Regions from separate parts of the Homo sapiens genome. Here region 2 is linked to region 1. The links are contacts of gene promoters, found by promoter capture Hi-C in human tissues and cell types (Jung and others, 2019). All regions are on one chromosome and are shown on one strand. The core of a region is centred on a gene start or on the middle of the fragment in contact, and the rest is flanking DNA. Distances in the headings are between cores, read along the strand shown. Region 1 holds the start of NADSYN1 (NAD synthetase 1). Region 2 overlaps SHANK2 (SH3 and multiple ankyrin repeat domains 2).

What was found. Contacts are between HindIII fragments. The study calls those that stand out against the background at their distance.
Region 2: a contact is called between a fragment that was not itself captured here and the fragment with the promoter of NADSYN1 in region 1, in 1 of the 25 tissues and cell types used here (mesenchymal stem cells).

Annotation. Positions count from the first base shown.
Region 1 is chr11:71,451,484-71,458,331 of GRCh38, forward strand. It overlaps NADSYN1 (NAD synthetase 1), which reads left to right and starts at 1,720. Exons shown (of 21, transcript NM_018161.5): 1 at 1,720-1,898; 2 at 3,627-3,687. The coding sequence starts at 1,814. DHCR7-DT (DHCR7 divergent transcript) reads left to right here. Exons shown (of 2, transcript NR_186309.1): 2 at 207-674. RefSeq lists enhancers at 389-438, 559-638, 1,876-2,377, 2,378-2,877 and silencers at 1,449-1,818, 6,697-6,848. The HindIII fragment of the contact is 4,997 bases long and covers 227-5,223 here.
Region 2 is chr11:71,210,059-71,216,928 of GRCh38, forward strand. All of the region lies in intron 2 of SHANK2 (SH3 and multiple ankyrin repeat domains 2), which reads right to left. Among named protein-coding and RNA genes, the nearest start is that of SHANK2, 39 kb to the right of the region's middle. RefSeq lists an enhancer at 4,777-5,358. The HindIII fragment of the contact is 3,598 bases long and covers 2,247-5,844 here.

The DNA of each region.
Region 1 (6,848 bases), core at 470-2,969:
AATAAGATACCAAATTATAAACAGGACCCAAAGCCATGCTAGGCGAGGGTAAGTCAGGCAACCCACACTTAGAGAATAAACTATATTCTAAGAGCCACAAGGCTTTCTGTTTCTCTATTAGCCAAACACACACTAGCCTTGGGATAGGGAATATTAAAACAATTGCAGCTCCACTAGGTGCCAACTAACTGACTCTGTTTCACCAGCCATAGCAGCTGTGATTGGACAAGAGACTGATTTCAGTGACTTTCTCCTAATAAGAGACCACCGACCAGCTGACCATGCCGACCAGCTGACCCGTTAATAGAGAGAGATGATGCACCTGCATGCCTTTGTGTCCTGAAAAGACGTTTTGCCATAAAGGCCCTAATTGTAAGATGTGTAAATGTTAAGTCTCCACCCCAAAGTGAACATGGGTCATATATTACATGCTTTGCTCAATAAGAGGGCATGTGTCAGGACCACCTTCATGAATATTCATAGCTCCTCCTGTTACCTGTTGAATATGTATGTTTAGCCAATCCCTTCAGCATAGCGCTCCTGCCCCAACCCCTCCTCCTTGGACGTGCCTGTCTCTGGCCTTGGCTGGAGACAGATTCCCAGCCTCAGACAGATGGCCGCCACCTTGCAGGCTACGACCGTTTACAAGAAATAAAGCCTTCTCTTTTTCCAAATTTGTGAATTGTGTGTTTTTAAACTAACATGAATGACAGAAGGAAGGATGGCCTCTTCAAGCAACGATGATGAGGCAGTTATTTATATGGGGGAAAAATGGATTCTACCGTGGGTGGACTAAAGAGGAAATGTGAAAAAATAAAAAGTGAGAAACCGCTGGTAGTGAATCGGTGCAAGCGCCCTGGAGAAGAGACTTGGCAATATTTAGTAAAGTCAAACAGCACGAACCCTACTACTCTGCAAAGCTGCTGCAGGAACTGGCGGAACGAGGTCACGAAGGAAACCTTGCCGGAAAGGAAATTGCAGCAGTGCCTGTGTGCGTGCGTCTGTTGGCAAAACGCTGCTAATAACGTCAATGCCCATCCGCTATTGAATAAACCTGCTTTACTGCCACTATGGAATACCAAACTGCAGAAAAATAATTAAAAGAACGTATCTCATATTACAGGGGAAAAAATCAAGTTGCAGAAGCACATTCAAGTGCAGTTCCTGTAGTTTCAGAAAAGGCAAACAGTGCGCTACCTGAGCTACTTACACACGTGGTACAGGAGTGAAAGGGGCAGGAGAGGGTTCCCAAGAATTCAGCGCCATCCGCCCAGGGTGGCGGGATTCCCAGCACGGAGAATCGATTGCTATCGTCTGCTGTCCCGCGGGCACGATGGAGCGCTCCTACCGTACTCTCCACTTTTGGTGTATTTGGAACGTTTCATGCCGTATTAAAATAAAACATGGCTAAGCTGGATGTGGGGTGGCGGTGTGGGATAAAATAGAGGGGTGCTGCAGCTGGGCGGTGAGCCCCCTGCACCTGTGCACCTGAACGGGTTTGCCCGCAAGGGCCGGGCCGGGGCCGGGGCCTGGGACGTGGGTGGAGCCGGGGCGGGGGCGGGGCCCTTCGCGGTGCCGTGAACGCTGAGGCCACCTCGCTGCGCAGGCGCGGTCGTGAGCTCCTCAGACGGGGCGGGGCGATCCGTAGGCAGGGCCTGACGCCGCAGTCCTCCTTGGCCGGAGCCTCAACGGATGGGCGGGGAGGGGGCGGGGCCGGGCAACCCGGAAGGTCCGGCGTCCCAGCCGCCTACCTCGCTGGGACCCTGGTCTTGCTGTCCCCCGCTGGCCTCCTGCCCAAGCGACTGCGGCCAGGATGGGCCGGAAGGTGACCGTGGCCACCTGCGCACTCAACCAGTGGGCCCTGGACTTCGAGGGCAATTTGCAAAGAATTTTAAAGAGTGAGTCTGGGGCGGCGGGGGCACCGGTTTGGGGTGGCGCACGGGCACCGTGGCTGGGCCCAGGCTTGCCCGTGGCGTGCTCACAGCCTTGCCCTGGGAAACTCTCGGCCCTGGGCATGGGATCAGGTGAGATAATGGGCAATGACCCCGCCAGTGGTACGTGCTCAGGTCCTCGTCGGGAAGTGAGTGTTTATAGTTCCCGGGGACGAGCGATATACAAGGCACGGTTAAGAAAAGTCTGGCGGCTTAGGCGGGAGGCCTGGGGATGGACCCGTGTTCTGATATCTCTGGGGTCCCGTGGTTGGGACTGAGCTGCCCATTCTCGGAGATATCTAAGTTGAACAGAATGGCTGCGCACTGGCGGGGATGGTGTGCAGAGGCCAGAGATTGATGGTCTCTGGTCCCCGTGGGCCTTCCTGGTGGGAGAAGGCGTCCCAGAAAGGGAAGTAGAAAAAGACGCCTGTCATCCCAGCATTTTGGGGGGGCCGGAGGGGGTGGAAGTCACCTGAGGTCAGGAGTTCAAGACCAGCCTGGCCATCATGGTGAAACACCGTCTCTACTAAAAATACAAAAATCAGCCGGGCGTGGTGGCCTCGAAGATAGGGTGTGGTTGTTGAAAGGTCACCATCTAATTTTCGTTCATATGGACGCACCGTGGAGGATGAAAAGTTAAACTATTACACCTGCACCTAAATGGGCAAGCCTGCAGGTGTAGTCAGGTTGCAGCTTGTCTTGCACTGGTCTGCTGACTGCAAGAGCCTTTGCCAGGAACAATAGAAACAGAATGTTTCAAGAGATGGCATCTAATCAGTATGTGCCCTGGATTATTATTATGATTATTATTATTTGACATGGACTGTCACTCTGTTGCCCTGGCTGGAGTGCAGTGGTGTCATCTTGGCTCACTGCAGTCTCTGCCTCCTGGGCTCAAGCGATTCTCCTGCCTCAGCCTCCTGAGTAGCTGGGATTACAGGCGTCTGCCACCATGCATGGCCAATTTCTGTATTTTTAGTAGAGACAAGGTTTCACCATGGTGGCCATGCTGGCCTCGAACTCCTGACCTCAAGTGATCCACCTGCCTTGGCCTCCCAAAGTGCTGGGATTCCAGGCATGAGCCACCGCAGCCAGTGGTTTTTTATTTTTATTTTTTAAATATCAACCTGCTTTCACCTCATTTGCTCAGAGCAAATCTAGTTGAACTGAAGAAGGCTTGGCCAAAACTAAGTTTCCACTCTGCCAGCCTCTCCTCCCTAGGTGCTTGTTGGAAGCTGCTGCCCAAGACCAGTAAGCCGATGGTGCCTGACAGTGGCACCACTGCTGGATCGTAATCCTCTAAGTCCTTTTTCCTCTAGATGGTGTTGGGCATTTCCTTGTTAATAAACTACCAGGGTCTGACTTCTTCCTCTTCCTCCGCCTCCTCCATGGTGCTAAGGGTCAGACCTGCAAGCCCTCCCTGTTTCTCATTTCCTGCAGATATAAGCAGGTATATGCAAGTATAAGCAGGTGCAGGCGTACTCGTGTATACAGGTGTATACAGGTGTATGCTGCCCTCTGCTGCCATGCTGTCAACAGGAAGCCTGACTGCATCCCGTCTGGGAAGGCACAGAGCATTTTTGTTTGTTGTTTGTTTTTTTTTTTATCCTACCTACTGCAGCAGGTTGTTTCATCTGTCTTTGAGTGTATAGGTGCTGAAATTGCTCCATTTTCTTTTTCTCTCTGTACTTACAGGTATTGAAATTGCCAAAAACAGAGGAGCAAGATACAGGCTTGGACCAGAGCTGGAAATATGGTGAGAACAGACACAGACACCCTGGGGTCGTCAGCTAGCGATACCAGCATCAGTTTTCCCCAGCTGAGAAGGCAAGGAAGGAGCAGGGACAGTCCTGAGAGCTGTGGACACGCCACACCCACTGTTGGGCCTGGTTAATGCCATTGAACACCTGAGCAAGGGCAGGCCCAGGGAGGCTGAATAAGTCTAGATTCCCATGTTGAGTAATTAAAAGAACTGACTTTTACCAGATGAAGGCCAGTTTCAAAGTTGGGCTGCTTCTGTGTTACCACTGCCCTTTTGCTGTGGTCTGAATGTTTGCGTCCCCACAAAATTCATATGTTGAAACCTAACCCCCAGATGATGGAATTAAGAGATGAGGCCTTTGGCAGGTGATTGGGTCATGAGGGCATGAGAGTGGAGCCTGCATGAATGGGATTAGTGCTCTTACAAGAGAGGCCCAAAGGAGCTTGTTGGCCCCTTCTACCATGTGAGGACACAGAGAAGGAGACAACCAGTCCTTACCAGATACCAAATCTGCCAGCACCTTGATCGTGGGCTTCCCAGCCTCCAGAACTGTGAGCAATACATTTCTGCTGTTTATTAATTACCCAGTCCAAGGTGTTTTGTTATAGCAGGCTGAAGGACCAAGACATATTCCCAGGTTTTCATTCCGTGATCTCAGAATCTTTCCACAAGCAAGCATAGGTTATCGTTTCTTATATGCCTTTTTGTAAAAATCAGGAAAACTGATTGCTTATTTCCCTTCTTGTCCCTTCAAAAACAAAAACAAAAATGAAAACAAAACAATGAGTAGCCACGTTGTAAGTCTCTTGTAAGCGATAGTCCTTTCTCATTTTGGATGTCAGCTGCCATCTGTGCTCTGCTAGTTTCCCGTTGGTCTTTAGGCCTCTGACCCGTTGTGGGATCTGGAAGTTCCTCTTCAGTCTTTGTCCCCTGCCTTAGTGTGTGTTCTTGCTTCTGGACTTAGAGTAAGCAGGAACTGTCTTCTCTTAGGAGGTTTTGTGTGAGTCCAGAGGCATCTTTCTCTAAGTCCTTCCAAGTTTCTTTCCTTCATTAGATTGATTTCTCTCCTTAGAATACCACCTTCAAATAGGGCTGTTTCTCCCATAATATCCAAGAATGTTTACTTTGTTCTTTAATTTGTCTTCATTTGATTGATTCTTTAAGAAATTCTTCACCTAAGTGCCAAGGGATCTAGGGTTCTGGGCTGTCTGATATCACAAAGCTTCGATCCTCTCCTGGCCCCGTGGCCGGATCTTCTCCTGGGCTGGACTCAAGGCCTGATCGTCTCGTGAGCCTGACCTCTCCTGGGCTGGTCCGGGGGCCTGATCCTCATGTCCTGTCTGCTGCTTGCCCTGGAGGAGCTGCAGTGGTGACAGCCCAGTCCCCCTGGCCTGATGTTGCCCAGATGCTTAGAGTTTACGTCTTCTTTTCTTTCTTCGTCCTAGTCTCTCTCTCCTATAAATGTTACATCCACCTCTCTCTTTCCTCCAAATATGGACCTGTTTCATTTTAAAAGTGGGAGGATGTCTAACTAAAGGCCCCCGGGATGGAATATTTGCATCCAGCAGGGACAGGGGCCCAGCTGAGCAGGTCTCCAAGTAGCTTACAACCTGCTGAGCAGGCTCCTGTGAAATATTCCAACAACTTACAGAGAGGAAACCGAGGCAGGAGAGGAGGGACATCACTTCACTGAGCACACCGCCTCTTGTTCTTACTGGTTAGAGGTCCAGCACCTGATACACAGGGAGGGCCCAGTGGCCCTAGAGCAGGCTGACTCATGGACCAGAGACCCTCTCACCTAGAAAAGTCAGCAGTTTCCTTTGAGCTGGTGCTGGAAGCTTTGGAAAGGGAAGGCTACCACCCAAATGGCCCCAGGACCAGCTCCTGCTGCTGACTCACCGAAGGGGTGAGAGGCCTCTGGTCGCTGGATGCCATGCAGCGGGACGTGTGGTGTTATAACGTTATTTGGTTTCACATGTGGGCCAGGACGCCAACAGGGCATGAAAACCCATGAAACGGATCCGTTGGAGGAGAAAGGACATCTCAGAACTCCATTCCCTACTGGGACATCTCCTGGATGCCTTTTCTATCTGAGAACTGGGCTTTTCCTCTTAGCAGAGCCAAGGCAGAGAGCAATGCTTTCCCAGATACTGAAAGTCACAATTGCTGGTTTTGGGGTTTATGCAGGTGTGTGCGAGGTTTGCTGGGCATTTGAAGTGTGCCTTCCAGGCTGATGTGTAGTAGAAAGGAGAACTTCTTGAAGAGTTATAAGTGTTCTACAGATACTCTATATTTTATTATGGGAACCCCAATACTAAGAAACCCAGCCTTCGCATTTAATGACACCACAGATTATTGAATTAATTCCTGTGGCTGCCGAAACAGATAGAAACAAACTAGAGGCTTAAAGCAACAGAAATGTATTCTCTCACAGTTCAGGAAGCCGGAAGTCCAAAATCAGGATGGCAGCAGCGTCTGGCTCCCTCCGAAGGCTCTTGGGGAGGGTCCCTCGTGCCTTTCCCAGCTCCTGGTGGTTCCAGGTGCTCCTTGGCTTGTGGCCTCATTGCTCCCATCTCTGCCTCCGTCCTCATGTTGCCTCCTGTTCTCCCTGTCTCTCCTCTCCTTTCTCTTACAAGGACACTTGTCATTGGATTTAGGCCCCCCTGCAAAAGCCAGGGTGATCTCATCTTGGGATACTTAATTTAGTTACATCAGCAGACTCTTCTTCTAAAATAAGGTCACCTTCGCAGGTTTCTAAGGTGGGGTGTGGACGGACCTTTTTGGGGTTCATCATTCAGCCGACTACAAGCATCTGTAGCAAGAAACACAGGGGCAGCTTTGTGGGTGGTTTTTCTGAATGGTTATTAGTGATCTTCTTTGCCAAAGAATGGATTTCTGTGGGTCCAGCTTTGTTTCTTTGAGGTTCTTCTCTTGTAGATCAGTGTCATTTGGGCCACATTAACAGTTACAAGGAAACCCAAGGGCGGGCACTTCCTGATAGAGAGAGAGTTTTTGTAGTAACTTAAAACTCAGAGAGAGGAGCAGGGGCCGTGCTCTTCGCTTTCAGTACGGCACATCTGGCTGCGGCAGTGGGTCTTATGCTGGCTGCTCATTGGAATCACCTGGAAGGCTTTGAGAAAACACCTGAGCCCCGG
Region 2 (6,870 bases), core at 2,796-5,295, 240 kb before region 1:
AACAGAAGCTTTCGATCATCTGCAAGGGAACTTCTGAAGGCAGCCTCAGTCCCAAGGGGTCTCCAGGGGCTGCAAAACCATCCCCAGTATTTAGTGGTGCATACCTGGTCTCAGCCCTTGCCACCTGGTCCTCTTCATTGGAAATCCACAGGTATATATATATATATATATATATATATATATATATATATATATTTATTTATTTTTTGAAACAGAGTCTCTCTCTGTCGCCCAGGCTGGAGTGCAATAGTGTGATCTTGGCTCACTGCAAGCTCTGCCTCCCAGGTTCATGCCATTCTCCTGCCTCAGCCTCCCGAGTAGCTGGGACTACAGAAGCCCACCACCACGCCCGGCTAATTTTTTTGTATTTTTAGTAGAGACGGGGTTTCACTGTGTTAGCCAGGATGGTCTCAAATCTCCTGACCTTGCGATCCACCCACCTCGGCCTCCCAAAGTGCTGGGATTACAGGTGTGAGCCACCATGCCCAGCCCAGATACATATTTATATTCATGTAATGTGCTTTTGTTTCTGTTCACACTCATCTCACTTCTTCCCTACTGGCAGACTGTTCCACAAGTGTCAGGAAATCCACTGCAGCTGGAGACCAGATCACTCCATCCACCCACTTCCCCCCACTTGACCTGGGGCTCAGTGGATACCAAGAGACCCAGGCGTCTGCTGAAGGAACTGGGGACAGAGAGCACCATTGTCCTAAATAAAACACACTCCACACCTGGACAGCACTCTCCCTGCTCCAAGAATGAGCCCGGAAGCCTCAGGACTGAAGAGAAAAACATCTTGGGGGCAGTGAAGAGAGTGTGATGCAGCGCCGGCACTCCCCTCATCCTCACGGATTTGGGGAAACATAACAGGTCCAAGACAGACGCATGAGGAGAGGGCAGGGGTGTATTCCAGTTCAGTCCATCTGCACCGCTGACAGGATCCTGCCATTTGACCCCTCAGGGTCCTGTTTCAGGGGGGTCCCCCAGGGCTGCTGCAGCCCTAATTGCTCCCCTTACCAAGTTCACGATGACAGCTCCCTGAGACACCCACAGGCCCCGTGGCTACTCCATATTCCCTGGCACCCAACCCTGGACTCAGTCCAGCACACTGTGTCCTATTGGTCAATTTCCTTTTTTTTTTTTTTTTTTTTTGGAAAAAAACATTGAGATTTTAAAATTTACACATCATCGAATTCACTCATTTAAAGCATGTAACTCAGTGCTCCCAGCCTTTTGGGAGGCCGAGGAGGTCAGATCGCTTGAGCTCAGGTGTTCAAGACCAGCCCAGGCAACATGGAGAAACCCCATCTCTACAAAAACATAAAAATTAGCCAGGCATGGTAGTGTGTGCCTGTAATCCCAGCTACCTGGGGGGCTGAGGCGAGAGAATCACTTCAGCTAGGGAGGTCAAAGCTGCAGTGAGCCACGGTTGTGCCACTGCCCTCCAGCCTGGGCAACAAAGCAAGATCCTGTCTCAAAAAAAAATAAATAAATACAATAAATAAAATGTATAATTCAGTGGGTTTTAGTGAGTTCACAGAGTAGGGTATCTATCACCACAATCCATTTTTGAGCATTTGCAAAAAAAAAAAAAAAAAATTAACCTGTATCCCTTAGCCATCACTCCTCAAGCTCCCCCATCCTCTCCCTCAGTCTCTCCCCAACCACTAATTATTTTCTCTATATATAACTTGGCCACTTTGAGGCATTTCATATAAATGGAATCACATGATGTATGGTGAGTCAATTCTCTTTCATTCTTTTTTTCACTTCTTTTGAGAAAAGCTTTGCAGTTGTCCAGATCTCCTCTGTGCATGGTTCTTTAAGTTGCATGCCTGAATCACTTCAAAATATGAGATGGGAACACACTGGAACGACTCTGGCTTAACGTCCACCTCAAAGCCTATTCACTGTGTTTTCAGCTTTCACTGAGGTCAAAGATATTTGAAACCATTTTGTTTTTTGCAAAACCCCACCTGCAAACACCGTGTCGCATGAAAAAATTCTTCCTAGATGAGAGCACCAAGAAAAGTCTGCTTTCCAAATGAACTGATATTAGACAAAAGAATTCTGTTATTCCATCTTTCTCTTCTTGCCCTGGCTGCCAGGAAGCTCAGAGATTAAAAACCGGATGTTAACTGTACAAATGCTCTCTTATGCTACAGTTGGGTCTTAGAGACTCCTCATGGTTCAAGCAGAGTTTTACCAGCGTGGCATGCAGAAGACTCATTTGGGAAAACAGCTAAAAAGACAGATTCCTACTGAATCTGATATCCTATAGATAAGGTCTTAAAATCTGCAATTTAAATAACATGCCTAAAAATGTTCTCAGACCTGGCTTTAAAGCCAAAGCAAAATGTCACAGCCCTTTTCCTAGGACTTAAAAGACATTCTGGGGAAAACAAGCCTCGTTCCTCCTCTTGTATCATCTTCGTCCTCACCCAGTGAGCATCCATGTGCATCATGTGGCTGTTTCCAGGGGCTGCAGTGAACAGAGCAAACGTGCCCATTCCACGAGAAAGGGCTGTCATTGCTCTAAGATGATGAGACCATCTTTGGCCGAGATGGAAGGATTTATAGAAATGAGCATGCTGAACACAATCCTGTTCCCTGGATGAATAAACTCAATCCAAGTCCTCAAAGGGTTCCAGCAGTTTCCATGAATCCACTTCCTCAACGTCAAACACCAGAGCTTTGCAAAGCTTTAGGACGTTCTTGCCACCAGGAATCCCTGCTCTGGTAGGAGAGGTTTCTTTCCCCATTTCCCTCACTGGGTAACCAGGTCGGAACAGCAGGTGGAGGCACAGGAAGAGGAGCAGGGACCCCAGGCGGAGGCACAGGGAGAGGAGCAGGGACCCCAGGCGGAGGCACAGGGAGAGGAGCAGGGACCCCAGGCGGAGGCACAGGGAGAGGAGCAGGGACCCCAGGGGGAGGCACAGGGAGAGGAGCAGGGACCCCAGGTGGAGGCAAAGGAAGAGGAGCAGGAACCGAAAGACACTGTGCCCATTTCTACAGCGTTGCAGGGTGCAGGACTGCTGCTGCCACCCAGGTAAGTCCAGGGGGCTTAAGGGCTGAGGTTCTTTACAGAGAACAAGCAAAGGTGGAAAAGGAGAATCTTCCCGGGACAGCAGGGACTCCTAGCAGCTGAGGGGCCAGGCACAGGGAGGCTCTCACAACAGAGGCAGATATTTCCCACACGGCCAGCAGCCTGCACAGCTGTGCCTGCCAACAACTGTCTGGTATTTTGTGAGGACGCCAAGATTACCATACTCTTTCGTCCCTCTATTCTGGAAAACACAGTTTGCTCCAACCTTTCACTATCCTAAATAGTGCCAAGTTGGACATCTTTATGATCACAGTTTCACTTTACTCTTCCCTCTGGATAAATCCCCAGGGGCAAGGTTTTTAACTCAAAGTCCATTTTCCTGTAAAACAGAGGTTCAAACACCACACAGAGGAGAGCGCAGACTCTGTCCTCTGTGCTCTGGAATTGTTTTTAATCACTGCACGAGCCATGTGGGGCATTAGACCTAAATAGCATTGTTGAACTCTGAGGGTCTCCTTCTGATGTTCCCCACACTCGGAAACTGACTCCCTGTGGGAAAAGGTGGTGGCCACACCTGAGCACCGGGCTGATCTTCCTTCTACAAACATGTCATCTCCCTCTCTGGCTCTTGCCAGCCTGCCGCCTCCATCCACACAGAGGAACGGCCTTTCTGATAAGCAAACTGGACTAATCATGTCTTCTATTTTCTGTCTTAGGACGTTTTGACATCTAGGGGAGCCTCGCAGACACTGGGAGAGACCGCCCCTTCCAGAGCTGGCTAGTTCCCAAAGACAGTAAGTGGCTTCCTTGGGCCATTTACCATGCACTCGCATGCACAAGCCAACCACCCCTTTTTCAACTCCTGTTCACCCAGCCAATATGAACCACCCCTGCCCTAACGCGCCCCAGGACCAGGTGCCAGGCAAGCAAAGACCTCCCCTACAGCCCCAGGCCTGCTGCAGTGACTCACCTGGCCTGGCCCTGCCTCTCTCACAGAAACCCCCAGAAAGGGTCTGGCCTCAGTTTCCTCCCACCTCCTGCCTCCTGACCAAACCCTGGGGCTTCCCCTGTGGCCCCAGGGCTCATGCCCCCTGCTCTTGGGAAATGTAAGCCATAAAACCTTCTTTTGGGAAATCTTTTTGTCCTCACTCAGCCACCTCCATCAGTTAAAATCCCGCAGCACAAATGAGACAGACGCAGCAAGGAAGACAGTTTCCACGCAGGTGAGGAACCGCGTGCTGGCTCCCCTCTGGACCTCCCAGCAACAAACCAGGGCTCCCCAGGCCCTAGAGGGACACCCTCCCTTCTTTTCCACCCACAGCCGAAACACACACAGCTGGGACTTCTTTCTTCTGTAGCCAAAAGACATCGTGATTTAGCGCCATCAGCTTTGCTTGAGAAAACGACCTTCCCTAACCACACGTTTCCGAAGAAGTGTCATCTCTGCTCAGCCTGCTAGGTTGGGAGACTAAAATGTGAAGATGGGTCTGGCTCAGGGTCCCACTGCTGTCTCAGCAAGTCTGGCCAGAAGCTAACTGGAGTCAGGCCAAGGGGGCATCACTGTCAGACCCTTGGCCCACCCAAGTGCCCACCCACACATCTGTCGCGTGCCACCCCGGGCTGCCCTGTCCTCTGGGGTGGGGTATCGCGCAGTTCTGACTGGGACCCATGCAGCTGTCCTCTCGTGCAATTGCTAAGAAGGTGAAGTGGGGTCACAAAAGGCCATTCTAGACCAGCAGGTGCTCGATGGGAGGCCTGGGGGTGGCCACAGCCTTTCGTTCTGGTCTCCAGGTATTGAAGGCCACCAAGCATCCCGCCTTCCACACATCCTCCTCTCGGCAGGGAGGGAGAACAGAATAGGGCTGCGTGGCGGTTTCCTCCTGGATCCCACATACACAGAGGAGCTGGCTGTGCTGCAGGTACATGGGGCTTTCCCTTCAGCGGACAGCTCCCTCCACCAGCCATTCTCCCACAGCCCACACGCTCACACCATCAGGCAGGCATGCCCCGATGTGCGATGTCCTTCATCAAAACCCCTCGTGATAGTGCAGCTTAATGCCATCCGAGTGCTGGAAAGAACCACAGGCCCCAGCTCTCACCCTGGAGCCGCAGCAGGGCCCACGCTCTCTCTGAGCCTCGGTGTCCACCACAGTCTCAGCAGGGGCAGCACCAAGTAACATCTGGTCCCCCTGCCCCCTGCGTCTGTACTTTTGAGGCCTCCCTGGCTCCCCTCACCCTGTCTGAACACGCCACTCTGTCATCTCAAGGCTTTGTGTCTCCCATGAAGCCTTCAGCAGGTTCTGCCCTGGTCACCCCTGGCTGCCCATCAGCAGGGCTCAGGTCCCAGAGGCACCGAGGGAGCTTCAGATGGTGCCTCCTGCCAAGACAGGCCCCCTGAGCGAACGTGAGGTCAGGCCTGAAAAGAAAGCAAGGAAGGCCTGCTGAGGATGTACCTCCTTTCCCAGGCAGGCACCTGCAGAAGGCCACAGCCCCAACTGTTCCCCGAGGAGGTGTCCCCACATAGCCATCCGTGGCACAGTGGCTCCCACTCAGGGCCCTGCTAATGTCCTCGGACATCCATCTACACCTCTCTCCCTGCACACACTGCAGGCGTGCCAGCTCAGGAGCTCAAACCTCTGCAAACACGATTATTTAGCAAAACCCAGACATGACACCCCAGAAGCGGCACCCCCACTCTGTAGTCAGACCACAACCTTTTTAGGGACAAGGAGTGGAGTCAGGCTCCCGCAGCACCTACCACCACCTTGGGCACATTGCTGATGCTCAAATCAAATCTTTCGAACCACAATGAGACAGCGCCTCCCCCACCCTCCAGGATGAAGATAACCAAGAAGAGAGATGGGAACAGAAGCAGGCAAGGGAGTGGAGCAAGTGGAGCCCTCATCCGACGCTGGAGAGGAGGTCCAACGGCGCAGCCACTCTCTGGAACATGGTTTGTCCCTCCTCCACTGAGGGACACACGACTCCACACGGCCCAGCAGCTCCACTCCTAGGAATCTACCCGAGAGAAACGAAATCGCGTCCACACAAAAGCCTGTACAAGAATGTCCAAGTGTGTAAAAGCCAAAAAGTGGGAACAACCCAAATGTCCAGCATGTGATAAACATAATATTGGATTAAAAAGATGCTGTATCATATGGTGCAGTATCACTCAGCCTTTAAAAGGAAGGAATCACTGAATCATGCTAAACGTGGTCAAGCCTTGAAAACATGATGCTGAGTGAGAAGATGGACACAAAGGTCATGTATTATACGATTCCATTTATATGAACTGTCCCAGATGGGCAAATCCGTAGAGATGAAATGGAGATTTGTGGTCGCCAGGGCCGGAGGTGATTGGTTAGAGGGATTCAGGAGGAGGGAGTGACTTCTAATGGTACAGGTTTTGGGGGGGAATATAAAAAAAGATTACTCTTCACAAATGTTAATATTGATTTGGGTGATGACTGCGCCACTCTGAAAATACAGCCACGTGCTGCTGTCAACATTTCAGTCAAGGAGGGACTGTGTATGCAATGGCGGTCCCATAAGATTGCAATGGAGCTGAAAACTTTTTATCACCAAGTGAGGTCACAGCCCCAGGGACGTCGTAGCTCAATGCATTCCTCACGCGTCTGTGATGCTGCTGGCCTAAACAGACCTCCTGCACTGCCAATCTAATTAAAGTCTAGCACATACAATTTTGTAGGTACATAGTACTCAATAATAAGAAAAAACTATGTTACTGGTTTATGCATTTACTATATTTTTTAGAGTATATGCCTTCTACTTATTAAAAAATAAAGAGGCTGGGTGCAGTG